Regions from separate parts of the Homo sapiens genome. Here regions 1 and 2 are each linked to region 3. Evidence: promoter capture Hi-C in 16 types of primary human blood cells and fetal thymus (Javierre and others, 2016). All regions are on one chromosome and are shown on one strand. The core of a region is centred on a gene start or on the middle of the fragment in contact, and the rest is flanking DNA. Distances in the headings are between cores, read along the strand shown. Region 1 overlaps RTTN (rotatin). Region 2 overlaps RTTN (rotatin). Region 3 holds the start of DOK6 (docking protein 6).

Evidence for each region. The method cuts DNA at HindIII sites, captures the fragments that hold promoters and counts their contacts. A CHiCAGO score of 5 or more calls a contact.
Region 1: a contact is called between a fragment that was not itself captured here and the fragment with the promoter of DOK6 in region 3, in 1 of 17 cell types (total CD4 T cells). The highest score is 5.6, in total CD4 T cells.
Region 2: a fragment that was not itself captured here is called in contact with the fragment with the promoter of DOK6 in region 3 in 1 of 17 cell types (non-activated CD4 T cells); the score reaches 5.1 in non-activated CD4 T cells.

The regions. Positions count from the first base shown.
Region 1 is chr18:70,083,014-70,086,637 of GRCh38, forward strand. RTTN (rotatin) reads right to left here. Exons shown (of 49, transcript NM_173630.4): 32 at 3,600-3,624. Among named protein-coding and RNA genes, the nearest start is that of RTTN, 120 kb to the right of the region's middle. The HindIII fragment of the contact is 2,516 bases long and covers 766-3,281 here.
Region 2 is chr18:70,066,590-70,070,106 of GRCh38, forward strand. All of the region lies in intron 34 of RTTN (rotatin), which reads right to left. Among named protein-coding and RNA genes, the nearest start is that of CD226, 120 kb to the left of the region's middle. The HindIII fragment of the contact is 277 bases long and covers 2,061-2,337 here.
Region 3 is chr18:69,398,990-69,402,585 of GRCh38, forward strand. DOK6 (docking protein 6) reads left to right here and starts at 1,899. Exons shown (of 8, transcript NM_152721.6): 1 at 1,899-2,321. The coding sequence starts at 2,256. The HindIII fragment of the contact is 5,350 bases long and covers 1-2,313 here.

The sequences.
Region 1 (3,624 bases), core at 774-3,273, 680 kb after region 3:
CTGAGTTTGACTCAAGAACAAGACCAATGTTTGTAAATATCCCTCTGAAAAGTTAGTGTCCTGAATATAAAAGAGCTGTGACACACCAAAGACTGACACAGCAGGAACTGGGTTCTCATATCCAGCAGGGGCCTGGTATCAAGGCCCCTGGTAGGAGTGCTAGATGTCAAGGGAAGACAGGCCGAGATACTTCATCTGCTCCTCCTCTTGGTGACCACCCCACTTCCAGTATGCTTCTGCATCCACAGAAAAATAAAAGGGGACTTATGCTATGAAAATTAAGGCTTTATTTCTAACTGTATTTACTTATGATATTAAGACCAAAAGGATAACTCAAATGTTTTGCACATTTTAATGAATCAGTCAAGACAGATGGAGCACTTACTTTCTCTGTGGTAGGGGTTGGGAGAAACATTTTTTAAAATATAAAAAATGTAGTCCTGTCAGAAACAAACATTCTACACAGGAAGATTAAGTTAAATGGTAAGAAATAATGCAAATATGGAAAATAACCTAATTTAGTGGTAAGACATTAAATGTTAGTGTCTTTAAAAGGAAGATTAAAATGGGAATTGCAGTGGTTGGTAAAATTATTTAATACTTTAAAAAAATAAATTGTTTTAAATTATTTACTTCCTATCTTGTCCGAGAAAAGATTTAAGGCCCATTACAAGGAAAGGTAAATTGTAACATGATAGTAAATGCATATCAGGAATAAAAGAAAGAAAAAAGCCAGAGATATGGAAAAAGTGCAACCATGAATAAAGCTTAGAAGGTAAGCTGGGTGTGGCAGCATGTGCCTGGGGTCCCAGCTACTCAGGAGGCTGAGGCAAGCGTATCACTTGAGCCCAGGAACTCAAGGCCAGCCTGGACAACACAGTGAGACCCCATCTTTTTTTTTTTTTAAGTACATACAGAAAAAGTCACAATTGATAAAAGGGCTCTACTTTCTGGCATCTAACAATAAAAGGGAAACTCAGCTATAATATTATTCATAATTCATATATGCATATTATTACTATTCACAAGTACAACAATTCTATGTCATGACATGAAGTAGGAATTTATGCTACTGTGCAGAGGAAGGAGAGGAAAAGGAGTAGTAATTATAAAGAGAATGCTTCAGAAAGCCTATGAAACAAGAGCACTAGCGGGCATTAATTTAGACTGCAGGCAGGAAAACAAAGTGCAAAGCAATAGAAGCAATTCTCTTTGTTAAAAAAAAAAAATCAAATATTTACCTCAACCAAAATAAAATTTTAACAAAGCTCCTAAACATGCTGTTTCATGCTATATCCTCCACAACACTATGAAAGGGACACTAAAATAAGTAAATGAAACATTTTGTTGAATAAGATTATTATTCATAATTCTACCAAAGACTGTTTGAATTTTAAAATACTGGCTATGTGGCCCCTTTTTCATGGTTGCAAAGGACCATGTGCCCCACTAGCTGCACCCAGAGACAACCATCTTGTTTCCTTCTTGCAGAAGCTGTTTCTACTTTGGAATTTCAGACCCCACTAAACTTTCTTAAAATTGGATGACAGATATACTGAGTTAACTATTTTCACTGCCAAGGAAGGACACTTACACAAACAAAAATAACCAAAAAAAAAAAAAGACTGAAAAGAGAGGAAGAAAATCTGAGTTTATTAAAAAGCATACAAGATTGTCCTTATTTATCTAATTTTTCCTAAGACTAGCAAAAGTTGTAATCAACTATTGTTTGGGACAGCAGTGGCTCTCCAACTTTTTTTATTTTGGCCAACTTAGCAAGGCCAAAACTCCAAAAGCTAACTTAAATCACTATTTTCCACTTTTTAGTAGAAAAGGATTTCCATGATGAAGACTGGAGAATAACAAAACCAATAAACTGCAGTAAGCATGCCACCAGCAACAAACAGGAACTTTACTATTTAATTTCTAAGAGAAAAATATGAACAGCTACATACGGTTCTGTATTACAACATAATGTCCCAGGAACTTTAATATACTCTGCCTTTATACTTATTTCAATAATTAAAAATTCATTGGTAGTACATCACCAAGTATATCCATGTACATGGGTCACTAGTTTAACAATGGGAGTAGAGATTATTTGTATTTGAGCCAAAAACAACATGTTTTAAAATGTAGTCTCCGGATAACAGGTACCAAAACTACTACACTATTAATATAACTATTAATCCTGCATATTCCCTCCAGTTTTGTCTCCTGGTTTTATTACAACATGGAAAGTAGATAAGCAGCCATTATCAGAAGGCAATGTTAAAGAAATTACGAGCAAATTACAAGCCTGGGATTTACAATGACTGGTAGGGTTACCCTGGGTTTGTAAAGTTTGGAGAGGTAAGCCTTCCAAGAGTTAAATGCTACCTGGGCCTTGACAACCACCTGGATTCATGCTTCGGGTCATGTGCGGAAACTTGCCCTTGCTACGGTTCAGCTTGTTTCACTAACTCCTCTAAGAGTATAGTCTAATTAAAACTTAAAAATAAACCTTAGATTTATACAGGATTTTGAGGAGTGAGGTGTAGCAATATGATAAATATATCCCTATAAGGTGAAAATATATGGATAGGTAAAAGGACAGAAACAGCACATCTTATATCCCCAATAAGTGTACTTTTGTATCTTCCAAATTACCTAAAACTGCAGCAACATGGATGGAGGTGGAGGCCATTATCTAAGTGAACTAACTCAAAAATAGAAAATCAAATATTGCGTGTTCTCACGTATAAGTGGGAGCTAACCAATGAATACACATGGACATAAAGACAGACATAACAGACACTGAGACTCCCAAGGAGGGAGTGGGGGAGGCGGCTGAGGTTATAAATTACCTAACTGGGTACAATGTTCAATATTTGGGTAATGAGTACACGAGAACCCCAATCCCCACCACCATTACGCAATATACTTATGTAACAAACATGTACATATATCCCATGAAGCTAGAATTTTTTTAATGTAAGCTATAAAAATGTTAGGTAACCATTTACTGATGTGATATTCAGAACATGAAAAAGAAAGTTAACCCAACAGAAAACAAAGCAAGATACACTATAACCCGCACTGTGCACTAACCTAGAAAAGGAAAAAAAGATGTTAACATCAACACATATTTAACTATCTACAAATTTGTTTATTATTACTAAATTAGAGAAGTAATACAGCAAAGTGGGTAAGAGACTGCCTAGACTCAAAGCAAAGGCGTACCACTGACTAGCTGTGTGATTTAGGACAAACTATTTAAACTCTCTATGCAAAAGTTCCTAAGCTTAGAAAATAAGGATAGTAACAGTTCACAACTCAAACAATTATACAAGTTACTATGTCTTACATTTCTAGAAGGGTGCCTAAAACATAGTAAACATATGTTAACTATTATTATTTGCTTTAAATTATTGTGAACACTATAGAGAAGAATTTTTAAGTCTGGTCGGCATAAGAACAAATTCTACGTTCTATTTTAAGAGGCCCTTGCTGTCTTGTATATAGTTTCATCAATAATGAAATATACTACTTATACTGAAAATTTATCACCAATTAATTTGAAACATCTACTAGGTTGATAATTGTTTAAAATCACCCACCTGCCAAGTATAATCCTTTATAATT
Region 2 (3,517 bases), core at 949-3,448, 670 kb after region 3:
TATGTGGTGAGGTCAGATAACTCTTTTCCTTACCATCAATTTCTCTTCTGTGAAGTAACATGAAGTGCCCATACCTGGGTAGCCTCCATATCAGTACATGCAACACAACATTAGCTATCCATAGAAGTTATAAACCATCATTCCAGACTCAGATCCTATATAGCTCACAGTATTTGTACATTGATTGTGTATATATCTTAACACTTAGAGTACCTTAGAATTACCATGATGAAATGAAAGCAAAAACTAAGGTTATTTTCATTTGCAGTTTCTAATAGTAAAGAGAATATAAATTTGAAGAAATTACTAAAAATGGAATATACAGTTTTTTAAATCCCCCTTTTAACTTGAGCCCTTAACCATCTTTCACCACATTAAGTAAGTATAACAGTCATGATGCCAAGAAATAAGTGAGAAAGCTGCAGCTAAAAAATGTAGGCTAAGCACATAATCTAAAAAGTAAATCTGGAAAAAAGTTCAGTCTAAATAAGTCAATCATAAACAAACATCAAATGCCTTATTTTATATAGTATTAGATCCAGATACTAAGTAAAAATAACCTAAAGCTTGTTTATTTTTTTTTTTTTTGAGACGGAGTCTCACTCTGTTGCCCAGGCTGGAGTGCAGTGGCACGATCTCGGCTCACTGCAAGCTCCGCCTCCCGGGTTCACGCCATTCTCCTGCCTCAGCCTCCCGAGTAGCTGGGACTACAGGCGCCCGCCACCACGCCCGGCTAATTTTTTGTATTTTTAGTAGAGGCAGGGTTTCACTGTGTTAGCCAGGATGGTCTCGATCTCCTGACCTCGTGATCCGCCCGCCTCTGCCTCCCAAAGTGCTGGGATTACAGGCGTGAGCCACCGCGCCCAGCAAGCTTGTTTATTTTTAAAAATATATTTGCCTACAATTTGGCAATGAGAGATATGTGAAAAAATGTTCCTGTCAACAGATATCAAGACAACATTTATAGTTCTGTGAAGAAAATAATCCTATGCCAAGACTGATATCACAAACTATGCACAAGCTAATATATCTGGCTCCTGCCACAACTCTTTTGGTTGTATAAGAAAAGTTAAGGGGATAATGATGCTGAAATCCTTTATCATTTCACTGAACATTCTTTCAACTGATAAAGACTCAAGAAGGCCTTATTACTGATATAAATAGAATAGGTACCTGGTTTGCGGTTTCAACGATCGGTGTGGGAAAAGAAAGCTTATAAGGGCCCACTAAATACCTGGCTCATTAGAAGAAAGCAAAGTTGTGATTCATGACAAAGGTCAGGCATTAATAAAGATGTGATTTTCCTTAGTATAGTCCACAGAAGGGATACACAAGTTTAGAAAAGATGCTTTTAGAAAGTACCTTATTGTATTATAACTTACCCCATGTGGTTGGGGAAACACAATGATTGCTTTATATGGTGCTTTAAAATTGATTATGGATGATTTATATTTCTACTAGCCTCTATTTTTTAAGTGTGCTAAACTAATATATTGCTATTTTAATAACTAAAAGCAAAAAAGTATTAAAGCAAATTGTCCCAGTTCTATGCTCAAATCTTTGCTTGTTTAGATATAATCTCCAATCGATAGTATTTGGTTACATTTGATAAAGTACATCGATATGTAAACATGTTACTTTTCACCTTAAAATCCAAGTAATAACTAGACAATTTTGGCATTAAGTATTAGCTACTGGAAGGTGCAGTATGAGCCTACGAAGCTATAGGTACAAAAAGCCTGACCTAGTCCACGTCCTCATTTAGAGAAAAGGACCACAAGTTAAGGGATTTGTCTGAGTTGAGACTAGGATTCTCAGTCCAGAACTGCATTCATGACAGCATAAATTCGTTAGAATCAGAGGAAGTCCTCAGACGTACCTCTTGAGAAAGCTGGCTGGCCTTGTTTGCGAGGAGAGGCTTGCTTCTTTCTCCCTGATCCCCCTGTGTCCCCGCGGAACTTCAGCTAGACTAACTTCAGCTGCCCCATCCCAGGTGAAGGAGGAGGAATTGGCTTAGTTTAAGAGCAAACTTAGTCTGCTGAAGTCATCCGTTCCTGTCAAGCTTCTCGCTGCTCTGCTCTGTACCTCACAGTAAGTAGGATAACTAGGGTTGTCCTCTTACAACAGCGAGAGTCTAATTCTTGTATCTATCACTTGCTCAATTCATTAGAATGGTCTAAGTGCAAAATCACAATCTAGACTTTTCCCTCGCTTTCACATCTGCCACATGACATATCCTGAGATCTTCAATTTATAATCCCTCGGTAAGACAAAAAAATCTGAATTTGAATATATTTCTAGCCTTATTACTTTACAGATATTACAAAAGACAATACAAGCTTTTTAGAGCAGGCTGATGCTACTTAAAGGTACTGTCCTAAAACAGACTCAGATTAGTGTAATGGATGTTGCTAGGGGATAGGAGCTGGGGAAAAGGGGAGATGTTTGGTCAAAGAGTGCAAACTTTCAGATAAGATGAGTATGTTCTGGGGATCTAATGTGTAGCATGGTGAATATGGTTAATATGGTCTAATGTGTAGCATGGTGAATATGGTTAATATGGTTAATAACACTGCACAGTCTACTTGAAAGAGAGTAGTTCTTAAGTGTTCTCACCACAAAAAAAAAAGGTTGACTCTTAGGTGACAGATGTGTTAACTAATTTGACTGTGGTAATCATTTCATCACATATACATATGTCAAGTAATCTCACTGTATATCTCAAATATATACAATTTTATTTGTCATTTTAGCTCAAAACTAGGGGAAAATAAAAAAATAAAATGGACTCAAATCTTGCTTATAAAAACTGAAAAAAATTGTTCTTCAGTGTGTTTGTAAGCAGATTTGGTAACTAAAGAAGGTTTCTAAATTATGCTTCAGTGTAAAATAAGCAGCTAAAATTAAGAAAGTCCCTTTGAAATCACTGAAAATAGCAGAGTCATTTGCCATATCCAAGTAGAACTGGAATGTAAAAAACAATTTCTGTCATATAAGCAAAAATGCATCAATGTACAAAAATGATTTTCTTTGTATCTGCCTTACAGAAGCAAGTGATTTCACTAGACACTTTAACTTTTTTTGAAAGTTAATTCAGAACTTGAATATTGTATTTGCCAAAATGATCTTGTAATAGTTCCATCAACTTCCCTCAAAAGCAGTACTGGTGCCAAAAAAGTTTATTTAATTGTTTTTAAAAAGGTACAAAGGGAGAAAATAAGGATTGTAGTGTGAAAAAAATAAAGTACAAGTCTAGCCACATTTTGAAAACATGGAAAAATATAAGATATGAAGGGTTTCTAAGAGATTCTAAGCTTCATGTGTTCATTTTAATAAATAATACCTTTCTCTATATGCCCAGGAGCAGGAAAGCTTTGGCATGCTTCTCAATTTGTAATCATTAATTCTAACCAAATTATAACAAGAAGTTTAAATTATTTCAACTAATAGATTCATAATTCAAATGGATTATGTACAATATATGTAAAAAAAAGAAAGCTCAGAAAAGTCCTCTGAA
Region 3 (3,596 bases), core at 649-3,148:
CACACCTGTTACTTATGTAAGCACTAAGATTGTTGCTGAGACAAAACTAATCCCTGACTTCAAAGAACTGATAATTGACTTGTGAAACAGATGATTATATAAATAGGAGAAGGAGTCAGTGGTCATAGAAATCACTGTAGACCTCAAATCAATCTTGAAACGTGTGGCTCTGCAACTGAATGTCTGTGAGCCTCAATTTCCTCTAGTAACTGGCAACCACATTTAACATATGTGGTTGCAAAGAGGGCTGAATGAAATCACTTATTTAAAGCATTTACAAACCTAAAGCAGTCTTTACATTTCTAAAAAAAATGGCCATGCAGCGTATGAAATAGTAAGAAGTGGGTGGAATAGACAAGCTGTGCCAGGTATTTAGAGGAAAGAATTACAAGGAGTTATCAGAGAGTTTATGCAAATTTTCTGAGAAGGTCAGAGCTTGAGCCCATTCCAGGGAGTTTATGCAAATTTTCTGGGAAGGTCAGAGTTTGGGCCCATTCCAGAGTGACAGCGGAAAGGATTTTACCATGTTATCCTTAGTATCTGATCTGCCCCAGCATCTGGTACTTTGCACGGTGGAAGGTTTTTTTATTTAAAAAAAAAAAAAGGCTAGCCCACATTAATGAATGAATAGGAATAGTGTGCTGTTAAAGCAAGTAAGAATTTCCATTGGTTTACACGGGCTCTAGATGGAGATTTCTGCAAAGGATGAGACAAAAATCTCCCTTGGATGCTCATCTGGTTGGACTGAGCTACCTTGTCCTTCAAGTTTTTACATTCCCCCCACAACCTCATTCAAGTAAGTTTCCTTTCTTTCTATTATTGTGTTTCAAATGGGGTAGGAAATTTTAAATGAGAACCTGGAAAAATACTGCTCACCGTAATAAACAAACATCATCTTTTGAACTTTTACTAAATATAACTCTTGCAGGAGTCACCTTAAAAATTGTCAATCTTTATACATTTTACTAATTAGAAACATCCTTAGAAGTAAGTACTAAATGTTCTAGCCTATAGTAAAAATCCATATGTTGCCTCCGGCCAAAACTCAACATCGCTCTTTTTCCTCGAATCTTTCACAAAAACATAATCCTAAAAATTAAAACATCTTTACAATAATGAAAAACCTACTTTTAAAATGCCATGTGTTTCTACATTAAGGGGAGAAAGTTTTTCATTTTTTGTTTGTACAAGTTGAGCATTTCAGGAAGTCATTGGTATCCATTGATAACAACCACGTTCTCCATTTTCCCAGAAGAGCCAGGAGCCACTTTCAGTCCTAGTTAACGAAAACGCATGCATAAATCAACCACTCGGGTCGGTCGGTCTTCTCCACTCCTTCAGCAGAGGACGTCGGCGCCCGGCTGCCTCGCCCGCCTGCCTGTCTCTAGGCTGCGGGAGGATTAGACACATGCGCACGATTGGTCTCTTTGTGTGCACCAGGAAGGGTCTGGCGTCGATTTACACTTCCTAACGGGGCAGAGACCTGGAACGGCCGCGAGTGCTTGGGAATAAAAATGTACTGTAAACAAGGCCAATGAAATAAGTGTCTCGCTCCCGCTGGCCTTCCGCGTTGGAAGTGTCCCCACTGCCCTTTCCCCGCTGCACAGCTTGCGAGTGGAGATTTAGAGCCCGGGAATGAGGCGCCGTGTCCTTAGGAATCTCGCGCCCGGGGAGCGCTGAGGGACCGGGGAGCCGGGTGGGGAGCGGGCCTCGGGGCGCCCGGCGGCGGAGGCGCTCCCACCCGCGCGGAGAGGGATGGAGCGCGTCTTGCGAGCGTCTCCGAGCCCAGCCACCCCACGGGCCAGGGGGAGGGAGCGGGGCCGGCGCATCAGCCCGCCCCCCCCGGCCCGCCCCCTCCCCCCGCGCCGGGGAGCCGCGGTGGTGCGCTCCGGCCAGCTGTGCGCCGCCGAGCGAGGCGCCAGCCCGTGGGTGCTGCCGGGGGCGGCGGCGCGGTGGGGGCTCCCGCAGCTGGCGGAGGCGCGGGCCGCGGCGCTGGGCTCGCGGCGGGGAGCGAAGGTGAGCGCCAGAACGCGGAGGGCTGGCGCGGCTCGCGGCGCCGGGCCCCGTTCCCCGTCCGCGGCGGCCCTGCAGGCGACCCCGCGTCCCCACCGGCGGGAGCTCGGGGAAGAGCGGGCGGCGGCGCTGCTGCTGGCGGCGGCCGGCTGGATGCGAGACCCGCGCAGACCCGGCGGCGGACGGCGGCTCTCGACTCCGGAGAGCGGATCGCGGGGCGCAGGAGCCCGATCGCGCTGGCCATGGCCTCCAACTTTAACGACATAGTCAAGCAGGGCTACGTGAAAATCCGCAGCAGGAAGCTTGGGGTGAGTGGCTCGCTCGGCTTGCTCCTTCCCCGGCGCTCGTTCGGCCCGGCTGGCTGCCTGGGGGGGGGGCAGGGAGAGGTGACCCGTGCGGGTACAGGGCAGAGAGGGACCCGGCCCTTAGGCGGATGGCCCGCTTGTTGCTTGGCCAGGTGGGGGCCCACACCTGCCGGGGGGCTCCGCAGACGGACCTGGGGACTCCAGGAGCGCCTGAGTCCCCATCCTCGAGTGCACCGGGCTGTCTTCGACCGTGCGGGGAAGTCAGTAGACGAAAGGGGTTGTCAGTTCCAACGAGGAACGTGCCTTGGAGGAGGTTTCTTTGCGGTGCTATCCACGATGGTCTGTTCTCAAAAGTGTGCGCCTTTCGGGTGGAACTGCTGTGTGTGGCGACGCTCGCGTGTGTTTAGAATCACCATTTTCTGGTCTCCGCTTCCCAAGCTCAATTCGAAATTCCCGTCTGATGCCCTCCCAGCGCCGCGCGTCCCTGCCGGCTGTAGTTTAGGGCGCCTTCGCCGTGGCCGAGGGCGGCTCCCGCGCCCCGCAAGTGCTCCCCTACCCGGGGACCCGCGCCCGCGTGCAGGCAGGTGTGTGCCCCGCGCCCGCCCGCGGTCACTGCTCCGTGACGGCAAAGTTGATGGAGACCTTTCCCTATTCTTGAGAGATGCGCTGCCTGGCTTGGGAGGGAAACCGTGTAGAACCCAAGGGTTCAAAACTATTCTAGTGACCAGACGAGGCGGTAGGAGGGACTCACGGGAGGCAGCGGGACAGGAGGGGCTGTCACCTGGGCGGGAGCAGCCTAGACTTGGGACGCGAGAGAGAGGATGGAGGGATGGGCAGGAGGTCCCTGGGGAGCGCGCGATGTAGGGTGGCCTGGGAGGCTGACCCCGGCTGGCTGGTCCAGAAAAGCGAGGGGAAACTCGTCTGGGAAAGAAAGGGCCCCTGTTCCAGACTCTGGTTGTGTCTACCTCACTGTTCTCCAACTTCCAGTTCTACCAAGCTCCTGCCTCCCGGGGCAAAGGGTCCTTGAGCTAGAACCTTTCCTGTGTTCCCTGATGACTGGATGAATCCTCCAACTTGGAGAAGGGGAAAAAGAGGGGAGGACTTTGCTAATTTTTGTGTAAAAAAGAAAGCAAAAGAAGGGTAGTGTTAGAGAGTGGAAGAAAGATAAGGTAGAATCCCCGAAAGAGGGCAGATCACCAAGCACCAGGAGTCGCTTTGTCGGGAGTTGGCGGCGCCAGGTGTTGGGGACAGGAGGACGGGAAAGGCAGACTTGACTCT